Linked DNA regions of Homo sapiens: all the other regions are linked to region 6. Evidence: promoter capture Hi-C in 16 types of primary human blood cells and fetal thymus (Javierre and others, 2016). All regions are on one chromosome and are shown on one strand. Each heading gives the region's core, a stretch centred on a gene start or on the middle of the fragment in contact. The rest is flanking DNA. Distances are from core to core; before and after follow the strand shown.

Region 1 (2,773 bases), core at 124-2,623, 580 kb before region 6:
CAGAGCAGCCCCGAGGGCTGCTGGTTGCTTATTTTTTATGGTTATTTCTTGATTATATGCTAAACAATGGGTGGGTTATTCATGCTTCCCCTTTTAGACCATATAGGGTAACTTCCTGACGTTGCCATGGCATCTGTAAACTGTCATGGCGCTGGTGGGAGTGTAGCAGTGAGGACCACCAGAGGTCACTCTCTTGGTCATCTTGGTTTGGGTGGGTTTTAGCTGGCTTCTTTACTGCAACCTGTTTAATCAGCAAGGTCTTTATGACCTGTATTTTGTGCTGACCTCCTGTCTCATCCAGTGACTTAGAAGGCTTAACCATCTGGGGATGCAGCCCAGTAGATTTCGGCCTTATTTTACCCGGCTCCTAATCAAGACGGAGTTGCTCTGGTTCAAACGCCTCAGACAAAGTGATCCACTCACCTTGGCCTCCGAAAGTGCTGGGATTGTCACTGCCCCGACACTTCAATACTATCTTGTTTTTTTTTTCTTATTAATATAAGAAGACAGGAATGTCAGGCCTCTGAGCCTAAGCTAAGCCATCATATCCCCAGTGACCTGCATGTACACATCCAGATGGCCTGAAGCAACTGAAGAATCACAAAAGAAGTGAAAATGGCTGGTTCCTGCCTTAACTGATGACATTGCACCATTGTGATTTGTTCCTGCCCCACCTTAACTGATCAATAAACCTTGTGAAATTCCTTAGAAGCTCCCCCACTGAGCATCTTGTGACCCCCGCCCCTGCCCGCAAGAGAAAAACCCCATTTGACTGTAATTTTCCACTACCCACCCAAATCCTATAAAACTGTCCCACCCTTATCTCCCTTTGCTTACTCTTTTTGGACTCAGCCGCCCTGGACCCAGGTGATTAAAAAGCTTTATTGCTCACACAAAGCCTGTTTGGTGGTCTCTTTACACGAACGCGCGTGACAGGGATTACAGGTATGACCCACTGCACCCAGCCTAGGCTAGACCCTTAATCACACGTGGCTTGCAGATATTTTCTCCCATTCTGGGGCCAATTTGTGTTTCTAAAAGATCTCTCTGGCTGCTAGTTGGACAGTAGATTGTGCGGAGGAAGCAGAGCTAGAAGCCGGGTGAACAGAGAGGAGTGAATGCAGTCATCTAGAGGAGAGATCACGGTGGTCAGAATAAATTTCAACCCTCTAAGGCATGAGGCACACCCTTGGGTCTGCTCTAACATCTGGGTCTGCTTCTGGCCCTGGCACTGCCTTTGACCCTGGCTTCTCCAAACCCCTAGACTCTGATGTGTTTTCCTTCCATAGTTTTGCTCACCCAAGCCTGATTTCAGTTTATGTCTGTGTCCCCATTTTCCCTTCAATTTCCTTATATATTAATTTTTTTTACAGGGTCTCGTTCTGTTACCCAAGCTGGAGTGCAGTGGCACGATCATAGCTCATTGCAGCCCCGAACTCCTGAGCTCAAGCGATCCTCCCACCTCAGCCTCCAGATAGCTGGGGCTACAGGTGTGTGCTACCATGCCTGGCTAATTTTTTTCAAAATGTTTTTGTAGAGAAGGGGTTTGTGTTTCTCAGGCTTCTTCTATATTAATTTTATCTTTCCAAATTAGGTAGTTTTGTGCATCACCTCACATCCCTTTTGTAATGAGGAATGAGAATAAAGCATGAGAAAATATAGGGGGGTAGATAGGGAACTGGAGGATGGACTTCTGGCCTCCATGGACTCACAGAAGCTGAGCCACCGCTCCTTCTCCTCGTGCCTGCCCTTCTCCCAGCTAGTCTGGCTCTAACTTAAAGTTCCATTTCCCAGATTTCCATTTGCCCATGATGCACTGGGAGCCTGGTAAGTGACTGAGGAGTGGAGAGAGGCAATAGAAAGCTTTGGGGGAAAGCCCACAGATCCTTGAAAACACAGACACTCCATGTTTTCTAGTCTGGAACATCACTTTCAGAATCTGCCTGTCACTGAGCTTTCTTAGGCATGAACCGAAGCAGGAACGTCCCACCCTTTATTCTGTGAGTTAAGACTCGGCTGCAAAAGTTGCTGGATACAAAGTCTATATATAAGAATCAATGGGATTTTTACAAACTAGAAACAAACCAGTAGAAATAATTTTTCTCGGCCGGGCGCAGTGGCTCACATGCATAATCCCAGAACTTTGGGAGGCTGAGGTGGGCGGATCACCTGATGTAGGAAGTTCGAGACCAGCCCGGCCAACATGGCGAAACTCCGTCTCTACTAAAAATACAAAAATAAGCCGGGCGTGGTGGCGCATGCCTGTAATCCCAGCTACTTGGGAGGCTGAGGCAGGAGAATCCCTTGAACCCAGGAGTTGGAGGTTGCAGTGAGCCGAGATCGTGCCACTGCACTCCAGCCTGGACAACAGAACAAGACTCCGTCTCAAAAAAAAAAAAAATTTCCCCTTTTTTTTTTTTTGAGAGAGTCTCGCCCTGTCAGCCAGGCTGGAGTGCAGTGGTACGATCTCATCTCACTGCTACCCTCTCCTCCTGGGTTCAAGTGATTCTCATGCCTGTGCCTCAGCCTCCTGAGTAGCTGGGATTACAGACACCTACAATCACACCTGGCTAATTTTCATATTTTTAGTAGAGATGGGGTTTTACCATGTTAGCCAGGCTGGTCTCGAATTCCTGATCCCAAGTGATCTGCCTGCCTCGGCCTCCCAAAGTGCTGGGATTACAGGAGTGAGCCACTGCACCTGGCCAGTCTTTCTTTCAAATTTTAGAGACAGGGTCTTGCTGTATCGCCCAGGCTGGAGTACAATAGCTCT
Region 2 (2,937 bases), core at 107-2,606, 620 kb before region 6:
GAAGGGTGGATCACCTGAGGTCAGAAGTTTGAGACCAGCCTGACCAACATGGTGAAACCTGGTCTCTACTAAAAATACAAAATTAGCCAGGCATGGTGGTGCACACCTGTAATCTCCACTACTTGGGAGGCTGAGGCAGGAGAATCACTTGAACCTGGGAGGTGGAGGTTGCAGTGAGCCAAGATCACGCCATTGTACTCCAGCCTGGGCAACAGGAGCGAAATTCTGTCTCAAAAAACAAAACAAAACAAAACAAACAAACAAACAAACAAAAAAAAACTGCCAAGGGGAAGCCCTACAATCTGGGGAGGGGGAGGCCAAAAAAATAAAAGGCATGCACATTTTTAATCAATCTGACCTCATCTCATTCCCCTTCTTGGTGGGGGCACAGGACAGGCAGTGATGGCTCCACTGGGTTGAGTGTGTAGTCAGGGGTGTTTGAAGGCAGCAAGCAACAGGACTTGCCATCTCTGCAACTTCACAGGAATCGAAAGGTGCTCTTCCTGATTTCAGCAAGGTCATGTGACAAAAAGGGTGAGGAGACCCAGATGATGTCTCCATTCTGTAATCATCTCTTTGGCTGCCTGAGGCTCCACCATCCATAGTTGATTTTCCTTTGATGTGTCAGATACCTGCTTCAGCTTGATAAAACAAGCATGTCGGTGGCGAGGTCCCGCGGGCTAGTGATAACCGGGGAACCCCTGAGAATTCTTAGGGACTTTGGGTATTCTCTGTGATGTTCCCAGGCCTTGCCCAGTGCCTGTACAGAGGAGGCAATTCATGGTGCTTGAGAATCTGTACTTACTGCAGAAAGTGTGTTCTGGGTCATATAAAGAATAACAAAGTAAGCCGGGCATGGTGGCTCACACCTGTAATACCAGCACTTTGGGAGGCCGAGGTGGGCACAGCACTTGAGGCCAGGAGTTCAAGACCAGTCTGGGCAACATGGCAAAACCCCGTCTCTACTAAAAATACAAAAATTAGCCAGGCGTGTTGGTGCCTGCCTGTAATCCCAGCTACTCAGAGGCTGAGGCATGAGAATTGCTTGAACTTGGGAAGTGGAGGTTGCAGTGAGCCAAGACCATGCCACTGCACTCTAGCCTGGGTGACAGAGTGCGACTCTATCTAAAAAAAAATAATAATAATAACAAAGTAGAAAGACTCATCAGAAGCAAGATAGGAGAATGAGTTATGCTGACTGTATGGCATGTAGCCAGGGGAGATGTTAAAATTATTCAGTAAGTATAACTATACAGGCACCAACTAAATACAGTGGATTCCAGCTGAAAATCAGTCTTGTGTGTAGCGGTGGTAGGATGCCTCTGAGGACTGGCCCACTTATTGTTTTTTGTTTTGAGATGAAGTCTTGCTCTGTTTCCCAGGCTGGAGTGCAGTGGTTCACTGCAACCTCTGCCTCCCGGGTTCAAGTGATTCTCCTGCCTCAGCCTCCTAAGTAGCTGGGACTGCAGGTGCCCGCCACCACACGGGGCTAATTTTTGCATTTTTGTAGAGGCAGGGCTTTACCATGTTGGCCAGACTGGTCTCAAACTCCTGACGTCAAGTGATTTACCTGCCTCGGCCTACCAAAGTGCTAGGATTACAGGTGTGAATCCTAGCACTGCGTCTGGCCACACTTTCAACAAAGATGGGGGATAGAGAGGTAGACTGACATACATTAGGCTTTGTACTATGTCTCCAGAATTGGGATGCAAACTGTGGCCAGTGGGTAGTTCGTGGATTTAGGACTCAACCTTGATGAACAGAGCTATGATGGCTGGAAGTGGGGCTCTGGTACAAGAAATGGTGTGGATTGTCTTGTTTATGTCATCCATAGCACCAGCATTTCAAGGGACCAAGAATATTACAGAGTCCAGTTTTTCAGAGGCTCTGGCATCAGAAATGAGTAAAGAAGTCTTCATTGTCTTCCTAGGCCTGACCTTGACCTGAGTATGTCTTGCCAGAAGATCTGACATCTGCGTCCCTCTACGTTGATGTCATGGCAGAATGCACACCCGTATTCTGGCTTTTTCCCCAAGGAACATGCTGGAGGGGTCAAAATGGCAGAGCTAGCCCCCTGCCCCGTTCTCTGCACTTTTGGAATCCCTGCAGAATGGGTGGGAGACCTTGTCTAGGGACGGCTGTGGTAGGCATTGGCTTGCAGCTGGTATCTGGTTATGCTGGTGGATTTTAAGATTGCTCAGTGATAACTGTTTCACGATGGAGAATCTTCTTCAAGTCAGGGTGGTCTTGGCTGACTCCTGTTATTTGGGCTTGTATAACAAGGTTTTAACCAAGTGGTTGCCTAGAACCTGGTTGTTTGAAAATTCCAATCGTTCAAAGTTAAGTGCCTACTCTAAGTGGCCAAGACTAAGTTTTCCTGGCTCAAAGTGGTGTCAAGCTGCAGTGGCCGTTCCTCAGGGACCTCTGATGCCAAGTTTCATCTCTCTAAGCCTTAAAGCCTATTTTTATGTAATTCATGTGCTTGGAGATGACTTTGAACAGGACTGGTCTTTTAAAAATAAGCAGAAGAACAAAAGTCCTCTAGCAATATCATGGCCCTATATGCATGGCTGAGAGGTTCCCAAGTCGGCAGACAGCTCCATGTCCAACTACCTAAGTGAGGATGAAACCAAAGTCTTCCAGTTAGGGGGGCCAGGAGCAGTGGGGTGTCCAGCAAGGGTTGCAAGGAGTAGTCAAGGACCTCTGTGGTTATGCTCTTGGCACCAATGGGGCACCCTAGAAGCAGGGACTCATCTGTGCTGTCTGTCCATACTGGTGTGTCCCTGAGTTCAGAAGACTCCCTGACATCCTGTAATCTAATGTGACAAGCATTACAGTAACTCGCGGTTCCACAGGTAGTCAGATCCTTTCTGCCTTAGGTCTTAGGGCAGAGGGTTGAGTTTGGATTCCTGGTGGATGACATCATTCTTGGTGGTT
Region 3 (2,851 bases), core at 158-2,657, 530 kb before region 6:
TAGCTTAGTTGGACTAATTAACACGAAGCTCCACATTCAAATAACATGAGTCCTCTCCCATTATCATTATTATTATTATTTATTGTAGCAAAGTATACATAATAGTTATCATTTCATTGTTAATATATATGACTATTTAGCATTATCAATTTCTCATTTAGTCATTTGTAAGTGTGCAATTCAGTGGTATTAAATACATTCACAATACATTCGTGTAAACGTCACCACTATTTCCAAAACTTTTTTGTCATTCCCAATGTAAACTCTCTACCCGTTATACAAATAACACCACATTCCTTCCCCCTCCTCCCATCCCCTGGTGACCTCGATTCTATTCTCTGTTTCTATGAATTTGCTTATTCTAGGTACCTCAGATCAGTGGAATCACACATTTGTCCTTCCATGTCTGGCTACTTTCACTTAGCCCAGTGTTTTCAAGGTCCATCTACACTGCAGCACATATCAATATTTTATTCCCTTTTCATGGCTGAATACCATGCCATTGTGCATGGCCACTGAATGCTCTTGTAAACATGGGTATGCAAATATCCAAGGTAATGCTTTCACTTTTTACGGCTATACCGTATAACTAGAAGTGTTGGGATTTATAGGGTTAAGCCACTGTGCCTGTCCTTAATTTACTTTGGATATATACCCGGTAGTGGGAATTGATGGATCCTATGGTAGTTTTTTTTTTTTTTTTTTTTTTTGAGACTGAGTCTTGCTCTGTCACCCAGGCTGGAGTGCAGTGGTGCGATCTCGGCTCTCTGCAACCTCTGCCTTCCGAGTTCAAATGGTTCTCCTACCTCAGCCTCCCGAGTAGGTGGGACTACAGGTGCATGCCACCACGCCTGGCTAATTTTTATATTTTCAGTACAGATGGGCATTTCACCGTGTTGGTCAGGCTGGTCTGAAACTCCTGCCTTGGCCTCCCAAAGTGCTGAGATTACAGACCTGAGCCACCGTGCCCCGCCCGTATTTTTTATTTTTTGAAGAACCTTCACGCTGTTTTTCAGAATGGCTGCAGGAATTTACATTCCCACCAACAACATTTAAGTGTTTTCTTTTCTTTACATCCTTGCCAACACTTGTTATCTTTTGACCTTTTGGTGATAGCCATCTAACAGGTGTGAGATGATATCTCATTGTGGTTTTGACTAGCATTTCCCCGATGTTTAGTAATGTTGAGCACCTTTTCATAAACCCCTTAACCATTTGTATATCTTTTTTGGAAAAATGTCTATTCAGGTCCTTTGCCCATTTTTCAATTGGGTTATGTGTTTTTTTTTTTTTTTTGCTATTGAGTTGCATGAATTCTTTATATATTTTAGATATTTAATCCTTATCATACACCATAAATACCCCTACTCTGTACTCACAAAAATTAAATTAAGTATATTTAAAAAAGATATTAAAACTAAAGAAAAAACACTTATCAGATATATGGCTTGCAAATATTTTCTCCATTCTGTAGGTTGCTTTTTCATTTTGTTGATTATTTCCTTGGCCGCTCTGAAGTGTTTTAGTTTGTGGAAAATCCCCTTGTCTATTTTTGCTTTTGCTGCCTGCGCTTTTGGTGTCATATCAAAAAAACTTTGCCAAGACCAATGACATGGAGCTTTTCTCTTCTTTTCTTCTAGAATTTTACAGTTTTGGATCTTACCTTTAACTCTTTAATCTATTTTGAGTTAATTTCTGTGTATTGTGTAAGATAAAGATCCAATTTCATTCTTGTTGCATATGGATATTTCATTTTTCCAACATGATTTATTGAAGATACCATCATTTTCTCGTTGTGTATTCTTGGTGCCTTTGCTGAAGGCTAGTTGACCATGTATATATGGGTGTATTTCTGAACTTTCTATTGGGTTCCATTGGTCTATGGGCCTGTTTTATTTATTTATTTATTTATTTTTTTGAGACGGAATCTCACTCTGTTGTCTAGGCTGGAGGGCAATGGAGTAATCTTGACTCACTGCAACCTCCGCCTCCCAGGTTCAAGCGATTCTCGTGCCTCAGCCTTCCAAGTAGCTAGGATTACAGGTGCCCACCACCATGCTCGGCTAATTTTTGTATTTTTAGTAGAGATGTGGTTTCATCATGTTGGCCAGGCTGGTCTCGAAATTCAGACCTCAGGTGATCCACCTGCCTCAGCCTTCCAAAGTGCTGGGATTACAGGCATGAGCCACCATGCCCGGCCTATGTGTCTGTTTTTTATACAAGTACTATACTGTTTTAATTACAATATCTTTGTAATATACTTTGAAATCAGGAAGTGTGATGCCTCCATCTTCATTCTTCTTTCTCAAGATTGCCTAAGCTATTTGGGGTCTTTTTTGGCTCCACACAAATTTTAGGATTTTAAAAAAATTTCTGTGAAATACATCATTGAAATTTTCATAGGGATTGCCTGAATCTGCAGATCACTTTGTATAGCATGAGCATTTTAATGGTATTAATTATTCTGTTTGTGTCTTCTACAATTTCTTTCATCTGTGTTTTATAGTTCTTATTGTACAAATCTTTTACCTCCTTCGTTAAACTTATTCTTAAGTATTTTATTCTTTTTGATGCCAGTGTAAATGGGAATGTTTTCTTAATTTCATTTTCAAGCTGTTTGTTGTTAGTATATATTATAGAAATGCAACTAATTTTTTATTTTTATTTTTTCTTTTTCAAACTTTATTTTAGATTTGGTGGTGGGGGGTAGATGTGCAAGTTTGTTACAAAGGTCTATTGTGTGATGCTGAGGTTTGCAGTACGATTGTATCTGTCATCTAGGTAGTGAGCTTAGTACCCAATAGGTGGTTTTTTAACCCTGGCCCTCCTCCCTCCCCTCTCTTTAGTCCCG
Region 4 (2,709 bases), core at 62-2,561, 650 kb before region 6:
ACAAAGAATGAAGAAAACCAGGCTCCAGATTCAGTCCTGTGGCTAATAAGCCATAAAACCCTAGAAAAGAGACTTCACTTTGCAGAAAGCTACACCTGTTACTGCTCAAAGTGAACCAAACTCTGCTCTAGTTACGGTGGGCCTCAGTGTTCCCACCTGCAGAAAGAACCATTCTGCCTAGGTTGTTTCTGAAGTTCTAAAGTTTCTCCCCCCTGGAAAAGCCTATCATGAGCATCACAAAACTTATGTCTAGGCATCTGATACACGGCAGCACATCAGATGTAGCAACTCATTTAATCGTCCTACAACCCTCTCAGATATGGTCTACTATTACCATCCAAGGAATTCAAGCTAGACAGAAGGAACTTAAGGTTATAGAGCCCACAGCAGAGGAATGAGGGTTCAAAATCTAGGCAGTCTGGCTGCACCTGCGCTTTTAACCACTGGCTAACACTACCTCTCCAAATTCTATAAACCTAAAAGCGGGCCTTAACTACAGACATGTAAACAGAAACCTGTCCAAGTATTTCTTCCTAGTGCCTCAATACAGCTGATATATAATCTACTGTGGAGGGAGACAACAGTGACTAGCATGTTAATAGTCAGTACACTGTAAAGAGCAAGTTACAGTTCATGAGACAAGATCACAAAGTAGGAACTTAATTAAGATCAAGATACACAATGTATGTTTTGTTTCTCAAATGTATTACCAAATAAAGTGTGTGATCTTTTAACAGTATCATACTTCCGTGGTCCTCAACAATTTTTGCTGGATAATGCTCCCAAAGAATAATTACCATATAAAAACAAACTGCCACTAAATAATGGCTAGATTTTCCCCATCTTTGAAACATGCATATGAATACACACATAAACAAGCAAACACAATCTATAACTTAAACACTATATTCTGAGTACCAAGACAAAAGCTATTAAAGATCATACAAATAGGTATGCACTGGATATGGTCAACATGAAGGGCCAAGGCAGGATTTACCTCCCTCCTTTGGAGCCACTTCACACCCGAATGACCTCCCGCAATTCTCTGCATGCCATCCTGCCTTCCTCTGCAGGCTTAACATCACAGCTGCTATAAACCACAATTCTGCTGTCCCCTCACCCCTTCTGTTTTAAAAGTTAAAAGCACAGTGGGACTGGGAAGCTCAGTGAGACAGAAATGGCACAACACCCCCCAAAAATGCAGATGGCAACTAGCTGTTAACCTGATTTCATCACCACCAGTCTATGATCTGCCACCTAGGCCTGTAGTAACTCTTCTCATAATCCTCGGAGGGCCTGAGAAACAGAGGCAGAACACTGATCATTTTATTCACAGACTGTTCTACTCTACAAATGGTGACGGCAGAAGTATTTGCTTCACTTTGCTCTGCCCCCATATTCCGGACTGTAGAGATGAGGGGAGTTGAGTCCAGTCTCTCTTTCTCACTGCAAGACACCCTTGCAGGAGAATTTTTTAAAAAGTAGTGGTTGGGATCCGGTCGGAAAGTCACTAAGGGCACAGAACGTACGAACTCTCACACAGCTCAATTCCTTCTGTAATTAAAGAAGGCTCTAATACAAGTCTTCTTACAATGGCCAAAAGATACTGATGACTAAATTGCTATGCAAATTTAGATTACCTGACTTCATAATAATGCCAGATCTTTACACCTCAGTAATAACAAGTCACAAGTAATTTAACCCAGAGATTCAGATTTGATATTTTTTCCCCACAATTTTATCAAAGTGTGTAAAAAAAAATGTTTACCAGTTTTTCTGTTATCCAAATTAATCCACCTTCCACAGTCCCATTTCTGTAACATGTAAAGACGTTCATAAAATCAAATGCCCAATTAAAAGAAGCAATGAAAAAGAGGAAAATGAATTTTTATTTTTATTATTTTTATTTTATATATACATTTTTTGAGATGGGGTATCACTCTGTCACCTCAGGCTGCAATGCAGTGATCAAAATTCACTGAGGCTGCAAATTCCTGGGCTCAGGCAATCCCTCCTGCCTCAGCCTCTTGAGTAGCTAGGACAACAGGCACACACACCACCATGCCCGGCTAATTTTTTATTTTTGTGGATATAGGGTCTTGCTATGTTGCTCAGATCGGCCTCCAACTCTTGGGCTCAAGCAATCCTCCCACCTTGGCCTCCCAAAGCACTGGGATTATAGGAGTGAGCTACCCCGCTCGGCCTGACCTTTTAAAATAGGGCTGGAGGCCAGTGTGGTCAGGCCTATAATCCCAGTGCTTTGGGAGGCTGGGGCAGGAGGATGGCATAAGCCCAGGAGTTCAAGACCAGCCTGGGCAACAGAATGAGACACCATCTCTTTTAATTAAAACATTTTTTAAATTAAAAAATAAAATAGAGCTGGAATAGAAACAATGCCAGAAAGGTAAACAAAAGACAATACCTGAAACAAAATTCGTCCTACTACTGAATTTTATTTTTGGGGGTTGGGGAGGTTGGATTTGTGTATTTTCATGGCAGATGGCTAAACTGTGAGTGATTAGTCATCAATCTGGAAAAAAGGCTCTTGGGAAAGTATGGCAATAACTAAAGAAATCTGTAATCCCACAAAAGTTGATCAAAACAGAAAACTTTAGTAAATATTCCAAGGTAATAAAGACCCTGTGTGGCATACGTATTTGCAATATACAAACATTCAAATAAAATCAAGTTACCAAACCCCATACTTAT
Region 5 (2,937 bases), core at 168-2,667, 550 kb before region 6:
CACTCCAGGCCCTGTTTGCCTGGGTATCACCAGCAGAGGCTGCAGAACAGCAAATATTGCTGCCTGATCCTTCCTCTGGAAGCTTTGTCCCAGAGGGGCACCCGCCTGTTTGAGGTGTCTGTTGGCCCCTACTGGGAGGTGTTCCCCAGTCAGGCTACATGGGGGTCAGGGACCTAACTGAGGAGGTAGTCTGTCTGTTCTTGGTGTTCAAATGCCATGCTGTGAGAACCACTGCTTTCTTCAGAGCTGTCACACAGGGACATTTAAGCCTGCAGAAGCTGTCTGCTGCCTTTTGTTCTATTATGCCATGCCCCCGGAGGTGGAATCTATAGAGGCAGTAGGCCTTGCTGAGCTGAGGTGGGCTCCGCCCGGTTCATGTTTCCAGGCCTCTTTGTTTATACTGTGAGCTAGTCAAGCCTCAGCAATGACGGACTCCCCTCCGCTCGTCCAGCTACAGCATCGCAGGTTGATCTCACACTGTTGTGCTAGCAGTGAGCAAGGCTCTGTTGGCATGGGACCCGCTGAGCCAGGCATGGGAGGGTATCTGCTGGTTTGCCAGTTGCTAGGACTGTGGGCATAGTGCAGTATTTGGTCAGAAGTATACCATTTCTCCAGGTACAGTCTGTCATATGGCTTCCCTTGGCTAGGAAGGAGAAATCCCCCAACCCCTTGCACTTCCCAGGTGAGGCGACACCCTGCCCTGCATCAGCTCACCCTCCATGGGCTGTATCCACTGTCCAACCAGTCCCAGTGAGATGAACCAGGTACCTCAGTTGGAAATGCAGACATCAACCGTCTTCTGCATTGATCTCGCTAGGGGCTGCAGACTGGAGCTGTTGCTATTTGGCCATCTTGGAAGTGACCTTCTCTTCTCTTCTCTTCTCTTCTCTTCTCTTCTCTTCTCTTCTCTTCTCTTCTCTTCTCTTCTCTTCTCTTCTCCCCTCCCCTCCCCTCCCGTCCTCTCCCCTCCTCTCCTCTCCCCTCCCCTCCCCTCCCTTTCCTTTCTCTTTTTTTCTTTCTCTCTCTTCCTTTCCTTTCCCTTTCTTTCTTCCTTTGTTTCCCCTTCATTTCCTTCCTTCCTTCCTTACCTCCCTCCGTCCCTCCTTCCTTCCCTCCCTCCCTCCCTTCTCTTTCTCTCTCTTTCTTTCCTTTCTCTCTCTCTCTCTTCCTTCTCCTTTCCTTTCCTTTCCCTTCCCTTCTCTTCCTTCTCTTTTCTTCTCTTTCTCTTTCTTCTGGGCTTCACTCTTTTGACCAGACTGGAGTGCAGTGGCATGATCACAGCTCACTGAAACCTGCCTCCCAGCCTCAAGCAATCCTCCCACCTCAGCCTCCTGAGTAGCTGGGCCACAGTTGTGAACTGCCATGCCAAGCTAATTTTTGTATTTTTTGTAGAGACAGGGTTTTGCCATGTTGTCCAGGATGGTGTTGAGCTCCTGGACTCAAGAAATCTGCCTGCCTCGGCCTCCTAAAGTGCTGGGATTACAGGTGTGAGCCACTGCAGCCAGCCAAAAAATCTCTTCTTATAAGAAGAAAGAGTGTAAATGGGTTGAGAATGACAATTGCAAAAGGAGTCACTGGGTGTCATATTGAAATGACTTCACAGTTTGGGCTGCAAGTGTTTTGATGGTGTCTCTGGTCAATATGTCTGTCTTAGCCATGACCTGGAAAGTTCTCTAACTTAAGAGTTTAAGACAACAAGTCCAGGCGCAGTGGCTCATGTCTGTAATCCCAGCACTTTGGGAAGCTGAAGTGGGCAGATCACTTGAGGCCAGGAGTTCAAGACCATCCTGGCCAACATGGTGAAACCTTGTCTCTACTAAAAATACAAAAATTAGCTGGGCATGGTGGCAGGCACCTGTAGCTCCAGCTACTTGGGACGCTGAGGTGGGAGGATTGCTTGAACCCGGGAGGCGGAGGTTGCGGTGAGCTGAGATCACGCACTCCAGCCTGGGTGACAGAGTGAGACTCTGTCTCAAAAAAAAAAAAAAAAAAGACAACAGAAAATTAATAGATATAGGAAGCCCCAAGATGAACTTCTGATTTCTGATTCTTCTTGAGTCAAAACTCACCTGAGCAGGGCTTTGGAATAGTTACTTCTCTGGTCCCACCTGGATTTCTCTTTCATTCTGTTCCAGTTCAGCCCATTTGGTTCCAGGTGTCCTACAGAGATGCTGCCCTGCCCTGTGTAGCTGGGAACTCCCTAACTCAATGTTCAATGGCAGGAACATTTCAGTCTCTGTGCCTGCAGCTGTTCCAAGTTAAATAAAACCCTTTTTCAGCTGTGATGGAGAGTACTTTGCTCTAGTGCTTTCTGCAAAAATACTTGTTGCCAGTTATTTATAAGTTTGGAAATGAAATGATTTTTTTTTCTTTTTTCTTTTTTTTCCAGACGGAGTCTCGCTCTGTCACCCAGGCTTGAGTGCAGTGGCGCCATCTCAGCTCACTGCAACCTCCACCACCCGGGCTCAAGAGATTCTCCTGCCTCAGCGTCCTTAGTAGCTGGGATTATGGGCATGTGCCATCACGCCCGGCTAATTTTTGTGTTTTTAGTGGAGACAAAGTTTCACCATATTGGCCAGGCTGGTCTTGAACTCCTGACCTCAGATGATCCGCCCGCCTCGGTCTCCCAAAGTGCTGGGATTACAGGCGTGAGCCACCCCGCCCGGCTAAGGGAATTCCTTTCTTATGATGTGTGTTTATTACACACAAATATAAAGGGCATTAAACTTCCTGTGTAACTCCCTTAAGCTTCTTCCCTAAGGCTTGGAGATTTTCTCTTTTAGCATTTTACTCTTGTGAGCTGTTAAAGTCCCCTGGCAACTTTATGAACTGATTAAACACTCTCTTCAACTTTTCATTTCTTCTCCAAACAACAGTGAAAATGGAAATAATGGCAAAAATAGTTACCATTTATAGAGTACTTACCACAGGCCAAGA
Region 6 (2,962 bases), core at 185-2,684:
TTTGGGAGGGTGAGGCAGCCAGATCACTTGAGTCCAAAAGGTCAAGACCAGTCTGGGCAATATAATGAGACTCCGTCTCTATAAAAAGTCAAAAAAATTAGCCAGGCATGGTGGCGTGTGCCTGTAGTCCCAGCTACTCAGGAGGCTGAGGTGGGAGGATCACCTGAGCCCAGGAGGTTGAGGCTGCAATGAGCTGTGATCATGCTACTGCACTCCAGCTTGGGTGACCGAGGAAGGCAATGTGAAATACATGTGAATTTTTTTTCAAAGAAACGAAAAAGAAGGAAGAAAAGAAAAAGGAAAAGAAGAAAGAAGGAAATCTGTGGTAGGCAGAATAATGGTCTCCCAAAGATGTCCACATCCTAATCCCTGGAACATGTGAATTTGTTACCTTACATGGCAAGAGGGGAATTAAGGTTGCAGATGGAATTAAGGTTGCTAATCAGCTGACCTTAAAATAGAGAGATTATCTGGATTATCTCATTGGACTCAATGTAATCCCCAGGGTCCTTAAAAGTGGACAGGGGTGGGGGCAGAAAAGGGGAGACAAGGCAATGTGAGTATGGAAAGAAGACAAAATGACGCAGCAGTGCTGGCTTTGAAGATGGAGGAAGAGCCACCAGCCAAGGAATGTGGGCGGCCTGCAGAAGCTGGTGGCTCTCCCCTACAGCCACGAGAAGGAACACAGCCTTCAAGGTGGCCAACACCATGATCTCAGCCTAGTATGACCCATTTCAAACTTCCGACCTCCAGAACTGTAAAATAGTGAATTTGTGTGGTTTTCCTCTGCTATTACTGTGGCAGTTTATCACAACAGCAGCAGAGAATTACTGCAAAACCTTCAGGCGGGAAAAAACAGCACAGGCTTCATCGACTCACACATTCACTTCAATAATACAGAAAACTGTCCAAGGCAAAGCACTATGTTGTGTGCCCTGCTGGGAATGAGGTAGGGAGGTATTGAGATGAAAGTTGTGCCTGGTGCCCACGAAGGTAGGTAATGGACGTGCAGAAAGAGCAGGGAGAGGTGGGACCCAGGGTGGAAACAAGAATGAGGGACTGGCCGGTCACGGTGGCTCAGCTTGTGATCCCAGCACTTTGGAGGCCAAGGCCAGAGGATTCCTTGAGTCCAAGTGTTCGAGACCAGCCTGGCAATATAGTGAAACCCGTGTCTCTAAAAGAGAGAGAATAAGGGACTTTGAGTCCTCTTTGGCCAAAAATATTTCAGTGAGGGTCTGTTTCATCCCTTCTCTCCCATCTCAGAGAAATGGAGGCTACTGCTAGTCTCACTTGCATCCTGGATTAGATTTCAGGACCTTTCCGCCAGTGATAAATGTGCAGCGCCTTAGCGGAACCTCAGCCAAAGCTATAAACTTCAACCGGCCACAAGAGTGTGCATGTGAGGTGACTGCATTTTTTTTCCCTGCCAAACCAGAATTAGCCGGTATAGGAATGAACGAGCATGAAGATTTGAAATTGCTCCGATTGGAAGGAAGCCCAGGTTAGGTTTGGGCACCTCCAAACGCACCCGTTTTAAAGCCACCTGGACTGAGGCGTCGAGCTTTCAGCTCCACCAAACGCTCACCTGGCCTGGCAGCGAGCGGCGGAAGAGCCCGGGAGCCCCTCACAGAGCGCACCGAGCCGGGCGGAGAGCTGAGCCGCAGGCACCCGCGTCTCCAGGATGATAGGCGACATTGCAACAAATCTCTACACCCAGCAGCTCAGGGGGCTCCAAGCAGAGCAGCAAGTTCGAGGATCCGGGCGTGGAGCCGAGTGAGGCCGCAGCCCAGCGGGCCTCGGGCGGTGAGTATCCGAGGCCGCGCGCGCCGCGGGCCTGGGGAATGGAGCGACGCCGGGGGCATCGGAGCCTAGGTTTCAGATGGCCGCTGCACCCCCAGGGACCCCCGGGAAGGGGCAGCCCCAGCCCAAGGCAGGCTCGGGAAAGGCTGCCCGGGCGGTGGAGGGCGAGACTGTGCCGGGGCAGGTGGTAGTGCCAAGGCCGCCGCGGGGGCTTGGGAGCTGCGGGCGGGCAGGGTAACCGGCGGTTCAGGGCAGACCGCCAGGCGGAGCTTGGGGACGCGCGCCTTGCTGCTCAAGCTGGCCGGGGCCCCGCGAGCGTCATCCTGGGCACCCCCGTCCGGCTGGAGAAGCGCGTTCTGCCCGGAGCCCAGCCTCGCTGCCCGGCTGCTCTCTAGGCCCGTTTGGGACTCGAACTGGACAGTGATGAGGCGCAGAGCGGGGGACCCGGGGCTGCGCCTAGGGACTTCGCGGGGTGCGGATGCCTCTCTGCACAGGCTGTGGTGCTGCAGCCGGCCCAGCTTCCCCGGTGGGCTGCTGGCTTCCGAACGCGCCGAGGGATGCGGGGTGCCCGAAGTGGGGATGTGGTCTCGGGGTGCCAAGGGAGCGGGAGCACCGAGCGCGGGTGGGGGCGGGCGCTCGAAGGGTGGGGCGCGAGGCCGGACCCCGCGGGCACGATCCCGCACCCAGGGCGCGCAGAGGCTGGGCCCCCTTAGCGCTTCCGATTGAGGCTCCTCAAGAGAGGCTGAAATGGGGTGAGAGACCGGGGACGGCCATTTCGGGGCTAAACGCTGCCAAGGCCATGACGATGTTTTAGGAGCTGAACTCTGCTTTCCAATTAAGCCATTTTCTTTCTGAGGAAAAGTTGATTCGGGCTCATTAACAAGGATGACTGAGGGCCATTATTGGGGCTTAGAGAGATTCTCCTTTGCCTTGTCTGGCTTCTTTGTTTGCATGTGCGTGCGTGTGCGGCTGTGTGTGTGTGTGTGAGAGAGAGAGAGAGAGAGAGAGAGAGAGAGAGAGAGAAGAGAGGGGAGAGAGGCAGTGTTGGGGGTGGGAGGAGGTAAAACAGGCTTGGGATCCTGCAGGCCTGGGTTCCGATTTGGTTTCCACAGCCTGCTAGTTTAACCTTTCTAAGCTTCATTGCTCCCATTTGATGGCTCAG
Region 7 (2,835 bases), core at 11-2,510, 600 kb before region 6:
CTGATGGAGTTTCAAGGGTAATTTAAACTCTGAACTCTTTTAACCTTATTTGCTAACTTTAGACCTAACCTGCATGTAGCATGCTGTCACTGTGTAATAAAACGCTCATTCATTCATTCCACCCACACTTACCAAGGGCTTATTTTGAGCTAAGCACTGTGCCAGGGCTGGGGACACAGGGCTGTACTGTGGTTTCCAACCACAGTTACCCCACACACTGAGAAAGGGAGAGCTCTCTTTGTGAGGTGGTGGTCGGGGCAGATTTCCTGGGATGGGTGGGCCTGGGGCAGGTCAAAGAGAAATTGAAATTGGACAGAAAAAGGAGCTTTTTGGAGGGATGAGGGGGCATCATGAGTAAAGACAGCCTCTGCTCCATGTGCATTCTCTGGCATGGTGGAGATTAGTAGGCCTCAGTCAGGCTGAGAAAAACCTAAAATTAGCCTGACCAGCTGGGCCTGGGCTGTGTGGGACTCTCCCTCACCCCCCTTGCCTTCTCAGGTTTCAGAAAGCCCGAGTATGTGCAGGAACAGCATGCTTTGCCCAGGTCGTGGCAGGCAGATCAGGGCACCTGGGGCCGGGCCGGGCAGAGGGTGCAGCTCCCAGCAGGGATGTTGTCTTTTATACGGGTTCCCCAATTCTGCAGGCCTGGCAAGAGGGAAGGGGGAGACTGCCCTTCCCATCTTCTTCTTGATGCCACTTCCTCTTTGGCTTGTTCCTTCCCCTTCCAGATCTGCAAAGCCTGGCAGTGTGGCACTGCCCAGGCCAGCAAACCAGAGACACAGCACGGCAAGCCCCACCAGGGGAAAGAGGCTTGGATGGGCAACTTCCTGGACACTGGGGAGGAGCAACCAGAAAGCCTCATCCTCACCCACTTTACCCTGTTCCACCTTCCTTTCTGATCTAGCCTGAAATTCCCTCCGTTAGTCACCATCAGCAAAACCGCAGAGCATGTGCTATGATCAAGACTTAGAAGTTGTGTGAGAAGCTAATCTCACCTCCAAAGGTGCTGGAGCTGGTCTGAGTGGGTGAGGAGCAGCGGTGCATGGCACCACGTGCATGGTGGTGGGGAAGGTGGGAAAGAGATGGCCAGCCTGGTGGTGCTGGCGGTGGTGGGGGCTGGGCAGCAGGGTGGCCTTTCCCACTTAGTGTCCGTCCCATCCCTACATCAGATATTCATGACTTGTTTCTTCTCCCTAGATGGCACTGTCTGGTACTCTCTGCCTTCTCATCTTCCTCTAGTCTGGGGTCCCTCCTTCTGGGTCACCAACTCCAAGACAGTTTGCAAATGCCAGTCCCCCTATCTGAAACAGTGCTGGAAGTTTCTGGAGCCAGAAGCATTGCTGAGCATGGGTAGTAGGGGCCCAGGAAGGCTTCCAAAGAGATGGGGCTGATGCAGGGCCCCAGAACAAGTTGCCCAGCCTGAGCTCATGGCCACAGTTGCTGTTATTTGCAGTTTTTGGAGTCTTACAATTTGCCCTGCCATGCTAGGCAATGGGTGACCACTGGCCACTCGCAGGCTAGACACCCTCAGATGGGGCCCAGGATTTTAAAATTTGTCAAATTAGATGCCCATTCAAAAACTGGGAGATTTCACGTGAAGTCAGAGTTTCTGACTTCTCTTGAAACATAAGAAGATAGGGCCCCATTTGAGGTGACTAACCAAGCTGGCTTCCTGGGACTCACCCAGTTTAGGCACAGAAAGTACCTTGTCCCAGGAAACCCTGGACAGGCTCCCAGAGCCCTGCAGGGCAACAGTAAACTGGAGTGGACTTGCTCACCCTCTAGGGCTCGTCAGCCCTGTTAGGGGCTAAATTGCACCCTCTTCAAATATGCATGTTGAAGTTCTAACTGCCAGTATCTCAGAATGTGACCTTATTTGGAAAGAGGGTCATTGCAGATGTAATGAGTTAAGATGAGGTCATACTGGAGTAGGGTGGGCCCCTGATCTGACTTCTGTCCTCGAAAAAGGGGAAATGGGAACACAGACACACACAGGGAAGATACCACATGCTGAAGGCAGAGACTGGGTGACGTGTCTCCAAGCCAAGGAATGCCAAAAACGGCCAGCAACCCCCAGAAACTCAGGGAGAGGCCTGGAATGGATCCTTCCCAGTGCTTTTGGAGGGAGCATGGTGCTGCTAACACCTCGATTTCAGGCTTCTGGCTTCCAGACCTGTGAGTCGACACAGTTCCATTGTTCTAAGCCACCCAGTTTGTGTGTACTTCATTACGGCGCCCTAGAAAACCAGTACACGCTCCTACCATGCCCTGCAGTTTTGTCATACATTCACCAGGCCTGCCTGGCCCCAGAGGCATTAGCCTTCTCACTTGCAGAAAATCCCCTGATGAGTTAAGCCAGATGTTGATGAGATCACTCCAGGGGTCCTGAGAGGGAAGGAGAAAGGTGGGTCTGGAGAGCATATGCCCCAGCCCTCAGGGGAGAGAGTGCTGGTGTCCCCAAGCAGCAAGTTCTCCAGTACTCACAGTATCCAGGAGGTGACCAGAGACCTGGGGGTGGGAGACAGGTGGGGCACCTGGGCTGGTACCAGGTGGCCAGCCTTGGCAGAGATCTCCCAAACTGTCGGGGACATTAGGAAACCACACCAGTGAGCTTGGGCAGCAAAGAAGCTGGGGCGACTTTGATGTACAAAAGATTAGGAGCCCTTCTGTGTGTTCAAGGCATCAGAGCCTCCTGGGTTCCGGTGGGTGAAAGGGGAGGTCCCAGTGGAGATGGAAAAGGAAATCTAGGTCAACCTTTCCAAATGACGTTGGCCTTGGAATGCGGTTGATTCAAGGGCAATAAAGAAAGTGTGTTAGGGCTGGGCGTGGTTGCTC

What was found. The method cuts DNA at HindIII sites, captures the fragments that hold promoters and counts their contacts. A CHiCAGO score of 5 or more calls a contact.
Region 1: a contact is called between a fragment that was not itself captured here and the fragment with the promoter of SLC16A14 in region 6, in 5 of 17 cell types (naive B cells, fetal thymus, total B cells and 2 more). The highest score is 6.6, in naive B cells.
Region 2: a contact is called between a fragment that was not itself captured here and the fragment with the promoter of SLC16A14 in region 6, in 1 of 17 cell types (total B cells). The highest score is 7.0, in total B cells.
Region 3: a contact is called between a fragment that was not itself captured here and the fragment with the promoter of SLC16A14 in region 6, in 1 of 17 cell types (megakaryocytes). The highest score is 7.2, in megakaryocytes.
Region 4: a fragment that was not itself captured here is called in contact with the fragment with the promoter of SLC16A14 in region 6 in 2 of 17 cell types (total B cells and naive B cells); the score reaches 6.6 in total B cells.
Region 5: a fragment that was not itself captured here is called in contact with the fragment with the promoter of SLC16A14 in region 6 in 2 of 17 cell types (megakaryocytes and neutrophils); the score reaches 6.1 in megakaryocytes.
Region 7: a fragment that was not itself captured here is called in contact with the fragment with the promoter of SLC16A14 in region 6 in 2 of 17 cell types (total B cells and naive CD4 T cells); the score reaches 5.2 in total B cells.

What each region holds. Positions count from the first base shown.
Region 1 is chr2:230,645,217-230,647,989 of GRCh38, reverse strand. No RefSeq gene overlaps it. Among named protein-coding and RNA genes, the nearest start is that of LINC01907, 54 kb to the left of the region's middle. The HindIII fragment of the contact is 984 bases long and covers 882-1,865 here.
Region 2 is chr2:230,691,227-230,694,163 of GRCh38, reverse strand. The region is part of intron 3 of LOC124907996 (formin-like protein 16); the gene reads left to right. It overlaps LINC01907 (long intergenic non-protein coding RNA 1907), which reads left to right. Exons shown (of 4, transcript NR_040038.1): 4 at 1,931-2,937. Among named protein-coding and RNA genes, the nearest start is that of LINC01907, 7.8 kb to the left of the region's middle. The HindIII fragment of the contact is 8,742 bases long and covers 1-2,937 here.
Region 3 is chr2:230,598,747-230,601,597 of GRCh38, reverse strand. No RefSeq gene overlaps it. Among named protein-coding and RNA genes, the nearest start is that of LINC01907, 100 kb to the left of the region's middle. The HindIII fragment of the contact is 8,478 bases long and covers 1-2,851 here.
Region 4 is chr2:230,716,215-230,718,923 of GRCh38, reverse strand. The region is part of intron 1 of CAB39 (calcium binding protein 39); the gene reads right to left. Among named protein-coding and RNA genes, the nearest start is that of CAB39, 4.7 kb to the right of the region's middle. The HindIII fragment of the contact is 4,922 bases long and covers 1-2,709 here.
Region 5 is chr2:230,617,184-230,620,120 of GRCh38, reverse strand. No RefSeq gene overlaps it. Among named protein-coding and RNA genes, the nearest start is that of LINC01907, 82 kb to the left of the region's middle. The HindIII fragment of the contact is 2,666 bases long and covers 85-2,750 here.
Region 6 is chr2:230,067,396-230,070,357 of GRCh38, reverse strand. SLC16A14 (solute carrier family 16 member 14) reads left to right here and starts at 1,434. Exons shown (of 5, transcript NM_152527.5): 1 at 1,434-1,803. All of the region lies in intron 1 of LOC107985995 (a long non-coding RNA gene), which reads right to left. RefSeq lists enhancers at 1,371-1,430, 1,441-1,560, 1,956-2,726 and silencers at 1,791-2,060, 2,331-2,580. The HindIII fragment of the contact is 4,045 bases long and covers 1-2,937 here.
Region 7 is chr2:230,666,509-230,669,343 of GRCh38, reverse strand. No RefSeq gene overlaps it. Among named protein-coding and RNA genes, the nearest start is that of LINC01907, 33 kb to the left of the region's middle. RefSeq lists enhancers at 237-376, 577-796, 1,177-1,256, 1,277-1,326, 1,367-1,846 and 2 more. The HindIII fragment of the contact is 4,213 bases long and covers 1-2,835 here.